2 separate regions of the Homo sapiens genome follow, and region 1 is linked to region 2. The links are contacts of gene promoters, found by promoter capture Hi-C in human tissues and cell types (Jung and others, 2019). All regions are on one chromosome and are shown on one strand. The core of a region is centred on a gene start or on the middle of the fragment in contact, and the rest is flanking DNA. Distances in the headings are between cores, read along the strand shown.

Evidence for each region. The method cuts DNA at HindIII sites, captures the fragments that hold promoters and counts their contacts. A contact is called where the count stands out against the background at its distance.
Region 1: a fragment that was not itself captured here is called in contact with the fragment with the promoter of DIP2C in region 2 in 1 of the 25 tissues and cell types used here (pancreas).

The regions. Positions count from the first base shown.
Region 1 is chr10:128,465-131,468 of GRCh38, reverse strand. It overlaps a transcript of ZMYND11 not described here. Among named protein-coding and RNA genes, the nearest start is that of ZMYND11, 5.5 kb to the left of the region's middle. The HindIII fragment of the contact is 6,236 bases long and covers 1-3,004 here.
Region 2 is chr10:687,852-691,065 of GRCh38, reverse strand. DIP2C (disco interacting protein 2 homolog C) reads left to right here and starts at 1,398. Exons shown (of 37, transcript NM_014974.3): 1 at 1,398-1,572. The coding sequence starts at 1,488. RefSeq lists an enhancer at 88-1,023. The HindIII fragment of the contact is 17,538 bases long and covers 1-3,214 here.

The sequences.
Region 1 (3,004 bases), core at 438-2,937, 560 kb after region 2:
TACTACACAGCAACCGAGGAGCTGAGCTGACAGTGCTTGCCAGGCCTAGTTCCAGTGCCTGTGGGCCTTGAAACCCAGGCTCCGGGCATCTCTTCAGGGCTCCATAGCTGTGGCTTCTGAAATTCAGTTCCCCACTTCTGTCCATGAATGTACAGTATTTGTTAGAAGTAGGTCCTCCCATACTCAGGTTAATATGCTTCAAAACATTTAAGGAAAAGTAGGATCCTGTCTTTTCAAGGGCAACTCATCACACAAGATGAAAAACAGATGTTTGTGTATGTGTGTGCCTTCTTTCCTTCAAAATTGTGATTCTAACCTTTTCCCTGTCTCCCTGGTCCCTGTTTTCCTTTTTTTGAGATAGGGCTCACTCTGTCACCCAGGCTGGAGTGCAGTGGCACCATCTTGGCTCACTGTAACATCCACTCCTGGGCTCAAGCGATCCTCCCACCTCAGCCTCCCGAGCAGCTGGGACCACAGGTGCATGCCACCGTGCCCAGCTAATTTTGTATTTTTGGTAGAGATGGGGTTTCGCCATGTTGCTTACGCTGGTCTCGAACTCCTGAGCTCAAGTGATCTGCCCATCTTGGCTTCCCCAGTGCTGGAATTACAGGCGCGAGCCACCGTGCCCGGCCCCGACTCTCTTCTATAGCATGATGTAGAAGAATATGCACTAGTGCACCTGAGTCCAAATTCCAACTCACTGTGAGACATTCAAGTGATTTCACCTTTTTGAACCTTGGTTTCCCTGTTTTTCAGGAGTATGATTTTCTAACATCAGATTGCTTGGATTAGAGTCCTAACTCCACCATTCTCTAGCTATTGACCTTGGACAAGTTATTTACCAATTTATGTCTCATTTTCCTCATCTGTGAAATGGGAATAATATACGATTTCATAGTGGTCATTGAGAGGATTAAATGAGAAAATGCATGTAAAATTATAATACTGCCTGCTTGGAATAACTTCAGTATTAGTGGCTACAATTATTATTATCTGTAAAATGGTAATGATGAATATTAAACGGGCCAAATATTGTGAAATGCCTGACACAAAAGGAGCTCCCCTTCTACCACGTCCCGTAGTCGAGCACACAGCACAACAAAGCGAAGACACCTAAGGACACAAGAATGTACCTGATTAATTGCAGGTGCATCTCCAGTTCCTCATTGCTCCCCACAGACCCAGCAGCCCAACCCAGGCTGGATCCTGGGGATTTCCTCCTGGCTTTTGATCTTTAGCTCCAGATGAATTGCCATTACCTGGAACAGAAGAAACAATTTCAGCCTGTGTTGACTCTCTTAGGTTTTTTGTTTGTTTGTTTGTTGTTTGTTTTTCAGAACTGCAGTTCCAGCAGCCACTTCCCCAGACTCTGCTTCTGACTAGTTATGTAACTTTTGGCACGTAGCAACCTCTCCCAGCTTCAGTTCCCTTCTCTGTAAATGATGGAGGTTTACAATTCGCACAAGGTTCCCATTAGTACTAAAATTCTATGAATTCCAATGCTATACCGGCCTCTGTTCCTGGAAATCCTGTTGTTTCTGCTCTGTTCTTCAAAAGCTCTCTTATCAGATATACTTTCTGGTCCTATTTCTCTTTTCCCCTGGCTTCCTTTCTTCCTCACCGCACTTAATGATGCCTGGCCTCTCTGCAGGCACTATCACACCGCTGCTTCCCTGCAGAAAACTTCTTCCCCTGGGATGGAAGCCAGGACTCTTTAAGAGACTTATTCTTGGATTCACAATATACAGAGGCATGGGGATAATTGCTGTCATATCTTGAGAAGTTATTCTCTTCTTCATTTAAACATTTCAAGTACCAGAAAATGCACACTTACATGTTTATATACTTCCTCCAACCTCTTGTCAGGGATACCTTTCCAACATGTTTTCACTTTTTAGGAAGGACAAAATTTAGTCATAGGCTCCACTCTCAGCTTATGGAGAGTTTCATGCAGTGAACTTACATTAAAACAAAAAGAGGCACCTGCACTTGGCCATCATTACTAAGGTCTATACACACATGTCAGTGATCATATCTGAACACAGAGCTGTGAACATGCCTCTTCCATGTTACATTTTACAGAAATTCCCTTCTCATTGCCACCTATTTGTGGCAATGGCAAATGAGAATCTGTGCGGGAATTTTTTTACTTTCTTTTCTGAGACGGAGTCTGGCTCTGCTGCCAGGCTGGAGTGCAGTGGTGCAATCTCAGCTCGCTGCAACCTCCACCTCCCGGGTTCAAGCGATTCTGCTGCCTGGGCCTCCCGAGCAGCTGGGACTACAGGAGCGCGCCACCACACCCAGCTAATTTTTGTGTTTTTAGTAGAGACGGGGTTTCACGATGTTGACCAGGTTGGTCGCTATCTCTTGACCTCGTGATCTGCCCGCCTCGGCCTCCCAAAGTGCTGGGATTACAGGCGTGAGCCACTGCGCCCGGCCTTTTAGTTTCTTTAAAACCCAGTACTGTGGTATATAGCATTTAAGATTTTCATTCTCTTCCTTCAGCTTTCTCACAGTTGTGATTACTCATGTTCCCATGCAAATTAATGTTTAAGAAATCATCACAGTATTTACCACTGATGCCTTTGGAATTTTCTGTTGTTCTGAAGGATTCTCCCGTTTGTTAATTTTCATAAAAGCTTTCTTTGGGTTTGGTTAATTGGCATAAAATTAAAACTGATGTTATCTTTATGTATGTTTTAAGTTTTTAATACAAACAAAGCTCAGAGAAATTGTAAAAAGGCTGATGGGATAGGAACATTTAAATAAATAAACATTTATAAACACATAAATAAATAGTTCATAGGAAACTGTCTTCTAGAAGTAGTAAAGTATAAAACGTCCATTTGTATTCTTCTATTATTTGAAGAAAACTATGTCTTAATAAATTGTCCAGTGATAAATCCCTTAAAGACCTAGAGAAAAATATAGTAAACACATTAGATCTCGCAGGGGAAATGGTAGAAAGTAAATATCTAGGAGAACAATAAAATGAAATGTAAAT
Region 2 (3,214 bases), core at 149-2,648:
CGTTGTTTGCAGGAGCCGGAGTGTGGAGGCCGCAAGGCTGCCGTGCAGGTGGGTCCCGGCTGGTGGGGGCTCCGGTCGAAGCGGGGTGGGGGGGTGGTGGGGGGTAGGGGTAGGGGGGTGAGGTGGGGGACCTGTGTTCCTGCGGCCCACTCTGAAAGGGGAGTGAGTGCAGCTGGGCCTCCGGGAGCCAGCGCTGGCCAATGTCCCGTGGAGGACGGGGAGGCGAGGAGGTCTTTAGGAAGCTCTGGGCCTAAGGGAGGGGCCGGGCTGGGAAGAGGGGGTACAAGGATGAAAAGGAGGCCAGGTCGTCGGGGCTTTGTGCAACAGACTGGGGAGGATGTGTGGAGACAGAGGAAGGTGATGATGAAGACAACGGGGGCGGTTCTGAGAAGCAGAACTTCCAGTGACTAAGAGTCACTGGAAGCAGCTGGCTTCATTTAGGGTTTGTGGCGTTTGGGGTGTCTAGGGGCTTCCAGGGAAGTTTGCTCAGTGGACGGTTGGAGATGCGAGGGCCTCCCCAGATGGTCAGGACTAGAGGCACAGACGGGGCTTCAGCCTCGCCGAGGTGGCACTGAGGCTGGGAGCTGATGGCCCCACAAGGAGAAGGACGGTGGGAACCCTGGGGCCTGCAGCCTGTTCCGGGAGGGCTGGAGCCAGGCTTTTCGGGCCCACCTGGCATTTGGAGATTAGGTGACCCAACCTTGTCTTCCCATCCCCTTTTCACAGATGGGGACACTGACCCTCCAGGCAAAGGCTCAGAGTCGCTCAAGGTCATCTGCTGGTCGTTGCATTCGAAACTTCCAGCCTAGCGCTCCGTCTCCGCCTCTTAAAATGTTCATTAACAAAAAACCAGCCCTCCAAGACCCGGGGCACTGCGAGTTTTCGCGCAGACGTCAAGCTGCGGCTCCAGGACGTGATTTTCGCAGGGAGCCGGGTGGACCAGGCTCTGGGGCCGGGCCCGCAGGCTCCGCTGGACGCGCAGAGCCCAGGACAGACAAGACCGCCCCGCCCCGCCCCGCCCCGCGGGCCCCGAGCCCCCAACCCGCCCCCGAGCGCGCCCCCGGGAGCGCGCGCTTCGCCGACGCGGCCGCGCGCCCCCCCGCGCGCTCCCGCTCCTGCGCGTCCTCGCGCCCCGCGCGCGCGCGCCCTGCCCCCGCGGCCCCGTGACGCGCGCGCGCAGAGACGCTCCCGCCGGGCCGGGGCCGAGAGCAGCAGGGCCGGGTCCGGGTCCGCAGCGCCTGCGGGGAGGGGCCGAGCGCGCGCGGGGCGGGCCGGGGACCGTGGGGCGCGGGGGCGCGCGAGGCGGCCGTGGCGGGGCCGCGCTGAGGAGGCGCCGAGGGGAGGGAGGTCCCTGCGCGCCCGCCGCCCGCCTCCCGCGCCCGCGCCGCCGCCTCCTCCTCGGTGCGGTTCCGCCGGGCGCGAGGAGCCGCCGAGACCTCCGCCTGCGAACAAAGAGGAGGCCGTGCGGGGCGCGGCGCCCGCGGAGCATGGCGGACCGCAGCCTGGAGGGCATGGCGCTGCCCCTGGAGGTGCGGGCGCGCCTGGCCGAGCTGGAGCTGGAGCTGTCGGAAGGTAACCGGGCCCCCGCCCCGGGCCGGGCCGCGCTGTCACCGGGGAGGGCCGCGCGCGGAGGGCTGGGGGCGCGGGGCCTGCGGCGGGGCGGGGGCCGGGCCCGGAGGGGGAGGTGCGACCCCAGCCCGGAGCGTGCGCGTCCCCCGGACCCCCAGACCCCGCGCCCTAGGGACGTTTGTGAGGCCGCGATCCCCCGCGCTCTGGGGACGTTTGTGGGGCCGCGATTCCCCGCGCCCTGGGGGTGTCTGTGGGGCCTGGGATCCCCTCGCGCTCTGGGGGTGTTTGTGGGGCCGCGATCCCCCGCGCCCTGGGATGTTTGTGGGGCCGCGATCCCCCCGCGCCCTGGGGGTGTCTGTGGGGCCTGGGCGCCGCGCGGGGACGCAGGATGCAGCGGGCCCGGCGGGATCGGCCTTCCCGTGCGCTCTGCGCTGGAGCCGCGGCGTCCTTGGTGCAGCAGCGCGGTGCGCGCCACCTCCTCGCTGGCGGGTTCGGCCTGGAACGCCCGGCCAGATTTCAATGCGAAACTTGTCGTTGGACCCCGGGTTCGATCTCTGGTGGCTCAGGCCGTGCAGCGGTCCTGGCGCGGCCCGGGGGATCCCACCCCCATTGTTCGCGGGCGCTGCGCGGGGAGGGCTGGGCGGAATCGTCAACCTCCCCCCGGGCCGGGCTCCGGCCTTGCCGTCCTGGTCCTCTCGTAGGAGGGTTTGTGGCAGATCAGCCACCGCGGTCTTATGGAGGGTTGTGTACGCCTCTTATTTGCTCTTCATGGCGGAGATCATGTGCTCAACTGTCATAAGTTTCAGATCGGGCTTTGCCAGGTCTTTTCCCCAAAACCACTGAAGTTCCCAAATCTGAAATGTTTGATGTGCATTTAGCCGTCTCTGGGCTCATCCTGGTCAGGCCATTCCTGTAACGTGGGGTGGGGTGGGGGTGGGCCGGCGCGTCTCACATTTATATTTGGAGCAGTTTAGCATGGTGAACTTTTTTTGGGTAACGGTTTTGTGAGGGCCGGCAGCCAGAAAGTAAACTCATTCGTGCCAATTTTCACCGGCAGGGAGGAGCTGGTGTTGACTTTATGTTTTCCTTTTTAACACTTTCAGGGCAAAGAAGGGAGTGAGCAGGGGCCATGGTGTGCAGCCAACTGCCTTTCCAGACTTCTGGGGACGGGAAATGGTACTGTTTTTCAGTTTCAGATGTGGGGTTCCGCGAGGTGTGTCAGTGTCCTGTAACGTGACACAGTTGGCGGGGGGCAGAGTCTTCCAGGCCTGTGGGCTTGGCTGCTGCCCTCCTGAGGAGCTGAGGATGAGGAGGGCATGGCTAGGAGGCGGGAGCTGCCGTGTGCAGGGTTCGGATGTAAACTGGTAAGTAGATTGTGCAGTGCAGACAGCTCGTTTGGTGGGTAAGGAGTGTATCATTTGCAAAAGGCCCACCCTGGTTATCTGATTGTGTCAGCCTTGGGTAGGTTTCCCGGCTTGCGTCTCGGCCCAGGTGCACCCCTGCCTGCAGCACCCTCCGTGTTCGCTGTCTCAGGACAGGGGCTTCTGTGCTGCCTGCATCACACTGATGTGAAGTGTCAGTGCCCCATCCAGGTCAGCAGAGCGTAGCGCCCCTGAGCTCAGCAGGGCGAGCCCCATCTGAGGGT